2 separate regions of the Homo sapiens genome follow, and region 1 is linked to region 2. The links are contacts of gene promoters, found by promoter capture Hi-C in human tissues and cell types (Jung and others, 2019). All regions are on one chromosome and are shown on one strand. Each heading gives the region's core, a stretch centred on a gene start or on the middle of the fragment in contact. The rest is flanking DNA. Distances are from core to core; before and after follow the strand shown.

Region 1 (3,836 bases), core at 1,016-3,515, 33 kb after region 2:
GAGTCTAAACACAAATTCAGGTCTACCCGACACCAGAGTGCACACTCATATTCCCGGGCTGTATTGTTCCTTGGGTGACCTATGTAGAGATACAAGGTGAATAAGGCACAGTTCCAGCTTCTAAGGAGCCTCCAGCTAGTGGGGAGACAGATGTGCAAGCAACAGTTGTATTGCAGTAACATAGCTAGTGTAGGAGAGGTGGCTGCTGTGACAGTGCTTGGGGAGGTGGAGGAGGGAGGACACTGCAGGCACCTCCCAAGGCTCTGCTCTCTGAGAAGGGACCCTGAAGGAGGTGGACCCCCCAGTCCTGGGCTAACCAGCCTCAACGGTGATTGAGTTCATAACTGCCTCTTTAGTTCAGTTGAGCCTGCATGTCATGGCAAACTAGGACATCGACCCTCAGTTTTTGGATTCACATGAAATAATTGATGATGATGATGTTGATGATGACAGAATGGGAGCAAAGGGACCACTGGAGTAATTAAAGAACTGGTTTTATAGGAATATTTTAAAAATCAGGTTAAAAAAATGCAACTGTGACTTTCTTCTGTTTTCAAGTATCCAACCCATGGAGTTGGAAGCACTTAGTGGGCAGCTAATTAATAAAGCTGACAGTGGTCTACTTTATATCCTACTACGGGAAGGATATTCTAGGATATGTTGGGCACACACCTCTGCTCTTGCGTATATTCCAGTATAGACTCTAAGTCCTACAGCTTGCGAATGGGACCTCAGAAGTCACTTGTTTAACCTCCTGCATGCTGTAGAGCCTTCACCCACAGAGCCTCAGAGCCTCCATGGTGGTCTCAGTCTCTGCTTGAATACGGCTGGTGGAGAGGACAGCTTCCTATAACCCTACTCAGTCACATCAGACCAAACTCCTACATCTTCATGTAACACATTTGAGAAACCTCAGTTGAGCACCTGTTTTGCGTATGATGCTATTTACTAGTGATACAAGTTGAAGAAGACACAGCTTTCCCTCATTAGGGGCTCATTTAGTTCTATTAGCAATTCCTTAGATGACGTTGTTTCCAAACCCATCCCTGCTCTCAATACCCTCTTTTGCAGAGTTACAGGTCATTTAAAACCTGACTTCAAAATTGGACATAACACTTTATGCACAGTCTATGCTTTGCACTTCTGTTGAGACTTGCGCTAGGATCAGCCCAAATCCCATGTTTTACTCATCCCCACTTCACAGACAGCTGTGAAATCAGATGTTTTTCATATTATACTTATTAGTGGATAATACAGTTCAGTAAACTTTGAGTACCTACTAAATATGCAGCACTCTACTAAATGTTGTCTCGAAAATATGATTCTGGACTAAGATGCAGTTTTTGGATTCAAGTTCAGTCCAGTAGGAAAGACATGCATAAACAGAAATTATCCATACAGTGTGGTAGGGGTGTGATAAAAATGCATGCAAGATGCTCATCAAACACGGAGGAAAGGCTCTTACCCCTCACTTGCAGTGGAGGAGGGTGTGGATGGGGTCAGAGAAGCACCCTGGAGGATTTGGCGCCTCTGTTAAAGGTTGGAGCACAGGCTGGGCGCGGTGGCTCACACCTGTAATCCCAGCACTTTGGGAGGCCAAGGCGGGCCGATCATGAGGTAAGGAGATTGAGACAGAGCCAGACTCCGTCTCAAAAAAAAAAAAAAAAAAAAAAAAAAAGTTGGAGCACAGATGAAAGCTAACCAAGTGAAGAAGGAGAAGCGGGCAAACAGAACAACCTCTGCAGGAGTATGGCATGGAAAGGCCTGGGGCATTTGGGGGACTGACAGAAGGACTAGAACAATACATTTGGTGATTAGAGAAGAAGCTAAAGAGATTGGATTCCTGAAAGCCACTGGAAGATATATTCGGTTCTGTTGATGTTAGTCCATTTTAAGCTTTAAAAATCCCGATGATGTCATGCAATACATTACTTTTTTTGTGACATGAGATTTGATAGAATACCTTTTTTGTTTCTAGACACATTTTAGTAAAAATTTAGTAAAAATATTGAAAAAGGAATAATAAAACAAGGACCACAGCCCCTCACAGGCCCTAGAAGATAGCCATTAATCAACCCGCACAGGGATGCTTAGCTCACAGTGCGTCGGTTTTGTTCCTGCATGACCTGGCCCTGCCTGTCTCTTCACTGTGCTTCATCCACATCCTCTTTGCTGTTCCTAGAACATAAGCTTTTCCGTGTTTCTGGCTCTTAACCTATGTTGTTCCACTCTCTGGAACACTCTCTGGCTGGTGCTTTTCAGCCTTTCGATTTCTTCTGAAATGTCTCCTCTTTGGAGACTATCTCGGCCTCCCCACCCTCAGCCTCCCCCATACATGCTCCATCACTGAAGCCTGTTTATTCCTTTCATGGTACAGTATTTACCCCAAGTCATGATTAAATATCTGTTTATATATTTCTTTATTGGATTATTTGTTTATTTTTCTCTCTCTAGACTGCAAGCTCCTTGAGCAGACCATGTTTATTTTGTCTACCACAGGTGCTCAATAAATATTTTTGACTATTTATTACATGAGAAGGTTTCCATGCAAACACCCATTGAATACGATTGAACTTGAACCCTAAGAGATGGGCTGTGACCTTTGTTGCCCTCAAACTAATCAAAGGGGAGTGATATTCACCATCCAGAATCTAGAATAACTTAGACCTTGTGGGCCAGGAGCTAGCTACCCATATGATAATACAAGAGCTCTCAGAGAAATCATGGAAGTTTTGAGCAATCTCTCTCTCCCTTTGCTAATTTACTTTTCAAAACTGAAGTATAATGGAATAACTTCCCCACCTCTCAAATGTCAGCATGCTCTGAAATTTCATGTTCTCTCAGGCGAGCGATTCATGTTTTCCATCCCACCCACCGTTCTCTGCCTTGTGTTTAAGGATGTGAGTGATAGTCTATCTACTAGTCTAGGATGCTACTGAAAAGTAAAGCAACCAAATACTTGCTTTTAGTGAATTCTTCAGTGTGTTTTTTTTAAGGGCTCAAGCACAATTTTTAAACGGTCTGTTCTAGGATCTCTATCATCCCCCACCACATACACATTCCCCCCACCCTCCAGGGGCTTGGTAACCAAGCTGACTAAACCATAGGCTTGTTTCTCTTTTATGAAACAGGAACATCTTTTAGATGACGTGGTGAAAAGTGAATATATTTGATGGGATAATTGCTGTCCATTCACCATTTTTAGGATTGATAACTTTGGAAGAGCTGGTAAAGGTTAAGTTCTGCCTTAGAGAAACTTTTACCAGTAGCTGTTCTTTTATTGTGCTTTTATTGTGATATCAAAAGTGCACGTGGCCTGGTTTGATTTTTTCCCCTCTTTGCAAACTTTTAGGACTTGATTTCCATCCTGTTTCCTGAAACTTTAAAATGATCTGCATTTTGGTGAGTCTTTTTTCATTCATTGTTAAGATGGCCAATTCATCTTATTCACCTGCAGTTAAGAAATATTCTGTTATAGTCTTTTATTTATAATTTCCTCCATTATTTTTTCTTGGAATTTCTACCAATTGGATATTACAAGTCCTAGGTTGATCCACTAATTTTCTTATCTTTCTCTTCCCATTTCTCTACTTTGTATTCTGACTCTGTGTCCTATCTTAGAACCTTGACTTAACTTATATGGGCCTTAATAGCCTCATCTATAAAATGGAATTATTGATGGTACCTTTTTACAAAGATCAAATGTCAATGTACATTTACAAATGAATAGAAAATGTTTATGGAACAGTACCTAGTGTTGTTAATATTACTTTCTACAGATTTGTCTTTGCTCTACTATTGTTAATATTATATTCTATATCCTTGCGTTTTAATCT
Region 2 (4,252 bases), core at 1,066-3,565:
GTCCGGCGGCAGGACCCCCGGCGCCACCCGGACACCTGGCAGCAGTTCTCGCCTGCCCTGCAGCCGCCTCTGCATGGAGAAAGAGAATGAAAGAAAACAATTCTAGATGGAGAGGAGGGGAGGGGAGGCCAGTTTGCAAATACTTCGGGAATGAAGTTCCTCAAAGACGCGTTGCGGGCCTTGTCTAATGCTAGGCTGTGACTTGGCCTCTTAACATCTATTTTCTCACGCCTGTAATCCCAGCACTTTGGGAGGCGAAGCGGGTGAATCACGAGGTCAGGAGTTCAAGACCAGCCTGGCCAAGATGGTGAAACCTGGTCTCTACTAAAAAATACAAAAGTTAGCCGGGCGCGGTGACAGGCGCCTGTAATCCCAGCTTCTCGGGAGACTGAGGCAGGAGAATCGCTTGAACCTGGGGGGCAGAGGTTGCAATGAGGCGAGATCACGCCACTGCACTCCAGCCTGGGCGACAGAGTGAGGCTCGGTCTCAAAAAAAAAAGAAAAAATCTATTTTCTCTAACAGCCTAATGATTAGTCCTCTGGGCGTGTCCCTCCCTCCTAGTTTAATCACCGGCCCAGGCGCCCTCATTTACTTGCTTCCGCGGCCACCAGGGCCCCCTGGGCAAGCAGCTCCGCAGAGAGCCCGCCGGCACTCGCGGACGCTTCTAGGCTGGGAGCGGGGAGGAAATGTCACCGGCCCCAAACTCGGCCCTAGGGAAGGCCATCCGCGTCTATACTTCTCAGTGTCCCTGTCGTGCGTTTTCCTTCCAACCCCATGCACACTCATTCCAACATAAAGTCGTGGAAACGGGCGTGCACTGGGCTGTTCCCGCCGAACACCGGGCGCGACTCAGGCTGCCGGAGGCTTCCCGGGCGCGGAGGCTCGGCGGGGTCCCCTTTACGCAGCAATTCCAATGAACAACTAAAGTCCGTACAGATTTTGATTGGAACAGACCCTAAGACTAAGAGCCTGGAAAGAAAAAGGCAAATCACCCAATAAACGCCTGTCTTCGCGACTCTCTAACCCGGTCGTATCGCGAGGGATCCGGATATTGAAAGCCCCTTTGCCGGAAGACTCGGGCGCTGGGAGAAGCCCGCATGGGACAGGCTGCCCCAGTGCCCGCCGGCTCCCTAGAATCGTGCAGCTCTGACCCTTTCCAACGAGGAAAAAATGTTTTTATAAACAATGTTTTAAAAAAAACCGCACACTTTTTTAAAAAGTCAGAATCTCGCTCTTGTCGCCCAGGCTGGAGTGCAGTGACGAGATCCCGGCTCACTGCAGCCGCGAACTCCTGGGCTCAAGATTTCCTCCTGCCTAAACCTCTCCAATAGCTGGGACTACAGGTTTCCTCTTGCCTCAACCTCTCCAGTAGCTGGGACTACAGGCGTGCACCACCATGCCTGTTTTTAATTTTTCTTTTGTAAAGACAGGGTCTCCCTATATTGACCAGGCTGGTCTCGAACCTCTGACCTCAAGCTATCGTCTCACGTCGGCCTCCCAAATGTTGGGATTACAGGCTTGAGCCACCGCGCCCGGCGATAACTCACACTTTTATTAGTTTTTCTTTTCTTATCTTTTTTTTTTTCTCAGTTTTTTATGAGGGTAACGGACGGGGCCAGGGTCATTTATGATTTGGGATCTTGGGGCAGTCAAGTTTGCAACTTCAGCTCAAAAGTCTTACGCTCGGAGCGCGCAGGCTCAGCGCGGGCTGCGAGACTGCGAGTGGAGGGCTTGGGAAGCCGCGGTCTTCGGGAAACCGTCCACGCGGGGAAGGAGAAAGGCACGGTGGGTCCTCGGGGGCACTGGCTCTGTGGCCCGAAGTCCCGGGAGCCTAGTGAGGACTAGACTTCTTTCTAGTAAGAGACCTGAACGTGCCCTCCCGCTGGGCTGCGGACACTGGGAGCCGGGCCGGCGGGTGGCAGGACAGGCAGTAAGGTGCTCATGGGGAACACTGCCCCGGGGAGCTACCGGCCTGGGCCTTGGCCGCGGGCTGGGGCGGTGCGCGCTCCCCGCACCGCGCGCACACTCCTGCACACACACCTGGAGCGCGTCCCGGGGGGGAGGGGGAGGAGAGCCAAAACGAGCGTCTTAAAATAGAGAGCCAGGCAGAGGAGCGCGAGACACCAGAGCGGGAGGCAGCGACTGAGAGCCGCCGGGCACTAGGCGCGCAGGTCGGCGCCGGAGTGGCACGGGCGGGCGGGGGCGGGGTGGGCGCGGACGCCCCTCAGCACACACTCCGCACCCGGCCCTGCAGGAAGCTCGCGCTGATTGACAGCTGCGTTGTCCCAAAAAGGCTCAGCGAAGATGCTGATCTGCGGGTGGGTCTAGACGCGCGGCAGGCGCGCCCGCTACCCGCTCTCCTCCGCGCGCCACCCGAGCCCCGCCGCCTCCCCAGCTGCCGGGAGCGGGGCCCAGGCCCCGCCGTCGCGCCAGCCCCGCGGCCCCAGCGGGCCGGGCACTCGCAGCCGCGCTCGGGCCGGCGGACGCTCGCGCCGGCTCACCATGCACTGCCACGCCGAGCTGAGGCTGAGCTCGCCCGGCCAGCTCAAAGCAGCCAGGCGGCGCTACAAGACTTTCATGATCGACGAGATCCTCTCCAAGGAGACCTGCGATTACTTTGAGAAACTTTCCCTCTACTCCGTGTGCCCGTCGCTGGTCGTGCGACCCAAGCCCCTGCATTCCTGTACGGGTAAGACGCTCCGCTAGGGGATAAGTGGGGTTCGGTAGCTTTCACGTCCGTGTAGGTGGCCTGTGCTTTGCGATCCGAGGGCGAGAGGAAGGGTTAAGTTAAGGGATTCTTTTCCTGCGCCTCAGCAAGCGGTGGGCATTGCAAAGGCATCTGCGACGTGGCCGGGAAGGACCACGCAAGGTGTGGATGGCACGAGTGGAAATAAAGGCGGCAGGGCCTTAGGAGTGGGCTGCTCGCGCAACGCCTGATTGTCCTGCTCGGAGGAGAACGCTTCCTCGTTTCCTGCTGAAAGTTCAAACACTTGAGCAGGTTCAGCGTCTAAATCGTTGTTTCAGGAAGTGGTGGTGTGTGTGAATTTCAAACTTGAGCTTGGCGGCCTTGCATCTCACCTTGAGTTAACTTGTCCAGCCTCCTACTGTCTCCACTGTGAATTTTGCAAGTAAATCAGTATCCTGAGGTTCTCAACAAAATCTCGAATTCACTGAGCTTTGCTTACAATGATCGCCCTCTGAGAAAGTAGTTCTGAAGTACATTGTCTTTGTGGCACAAGCCGAAAAGGTCACCCTCGTTTGTCTTAAGTCAAGCCGAAAAGGTCACCCTCGTTTGTCTTAAGTGACCAAAACCAGCAATGGTAACAATGAAAACATTACTCACACCTGGTTTTCTCTCTTCACGGGAGGTAAGAGCAATAGTAAAGATAAAGAGAACTTAATACATATATTGAAAACGTAGTAGAGTTTCTATCGAAAATAAATCCAAGGTACTTTTAAAATTTTGAATGCATTAAGAGAAGATCCAAGTTTCAAAGTATCTCGGCATTGTTAGGATTTAGGTTATGGAACATGGGTATAATAAAACGAAAAAGAAGTAGGAGCACTTTTTATCAGAAAAAAGTTATTGAGTGTGCTTTCCATTAAAGGTAAGCATAAAGTATTTCCAAACCAAAAGAACCTTTGAGATTGTTAGTTGCATGAGAGGCATGAGATAAATTAAATTACACTTAAAATGAAAAAATGAAGGGCCAACAGTTTTGGAAGATATTTTTTGGAACATTTGAGTTGTTAATGCTCAATGCGTGGAATCCTGTATTTTCTCTTGGTTCCATTGATAGTCCCTATATGACAATCAGTAAACATATGATAAATACATACAGTGAAGTTCTTTTAAAACCAAATTGTTCCTACATGTATTTGGTTGTAAAATGTATACTGTATTCAGTTATGCCTTTTTAAAGTTAATTTGTCTGTAAGGTAGAATTAGGCCTGATGTCCCATAACAAGCCTTGTAATACTGAATTTTTAAAACCAAGAAATATATGAAACAAGGAACAAATAAGAAATTTTAGAAACAAGATAGATCTCCTGAGAACTGATATTTTTACATTTGTGTATAGGTGGTTGTGGACCCTTGGACACATACATACTGAATAGGGGTGATAAGTTGAATATTGTTTTGAGCACAAATCATCCTTTGTTATAATAACTCAATTCCCTTCGAGGAAAAAGAGAGGATCTGTTTCAGTCATTAACATTGCGTATGGGACATTCCCAGGACAAAACAGA

What was found. The method cuts DNA at HindIII sites, captures the fragments that hold promoters and counts their contacts. A contact is called where the count stands out against the background at its distance.
Region 1: a contact is called between a fragment that was not itself captured here and the fragment with the promoter of BARX2 in region 2, in 2 of the 25 tissues and cell types used here (pancreas and spleen).

Annotation. Positions count from the first base shown.
Region 1 is chr11:129,406,370-129,410,205 of GRCh38, forward strand. All of the region lies in intron 1 of BARX2 (BARX homeobox 2), which reads left to right. Among named protein-coding and RNA genes, the nearest start is that of BARX2, 32 kb to the left of the region's middle. The HindIII fragment of the contact is 4,239 bases long and covers 147-3,836 here.
Region 2 is chr11:129,373,533-129,377,784 of GRCh38, forward strand. BARX2 (BARX homeobox 2) reads left to right here and starts at 2,316. Exons shown (of 4, transcript NM_003658.5): 1 at 2,316-2,690. The coding sequence starts at 2,504. The HindIII fragment of the contact is 19,007 bases long and covers 1-4,252 here.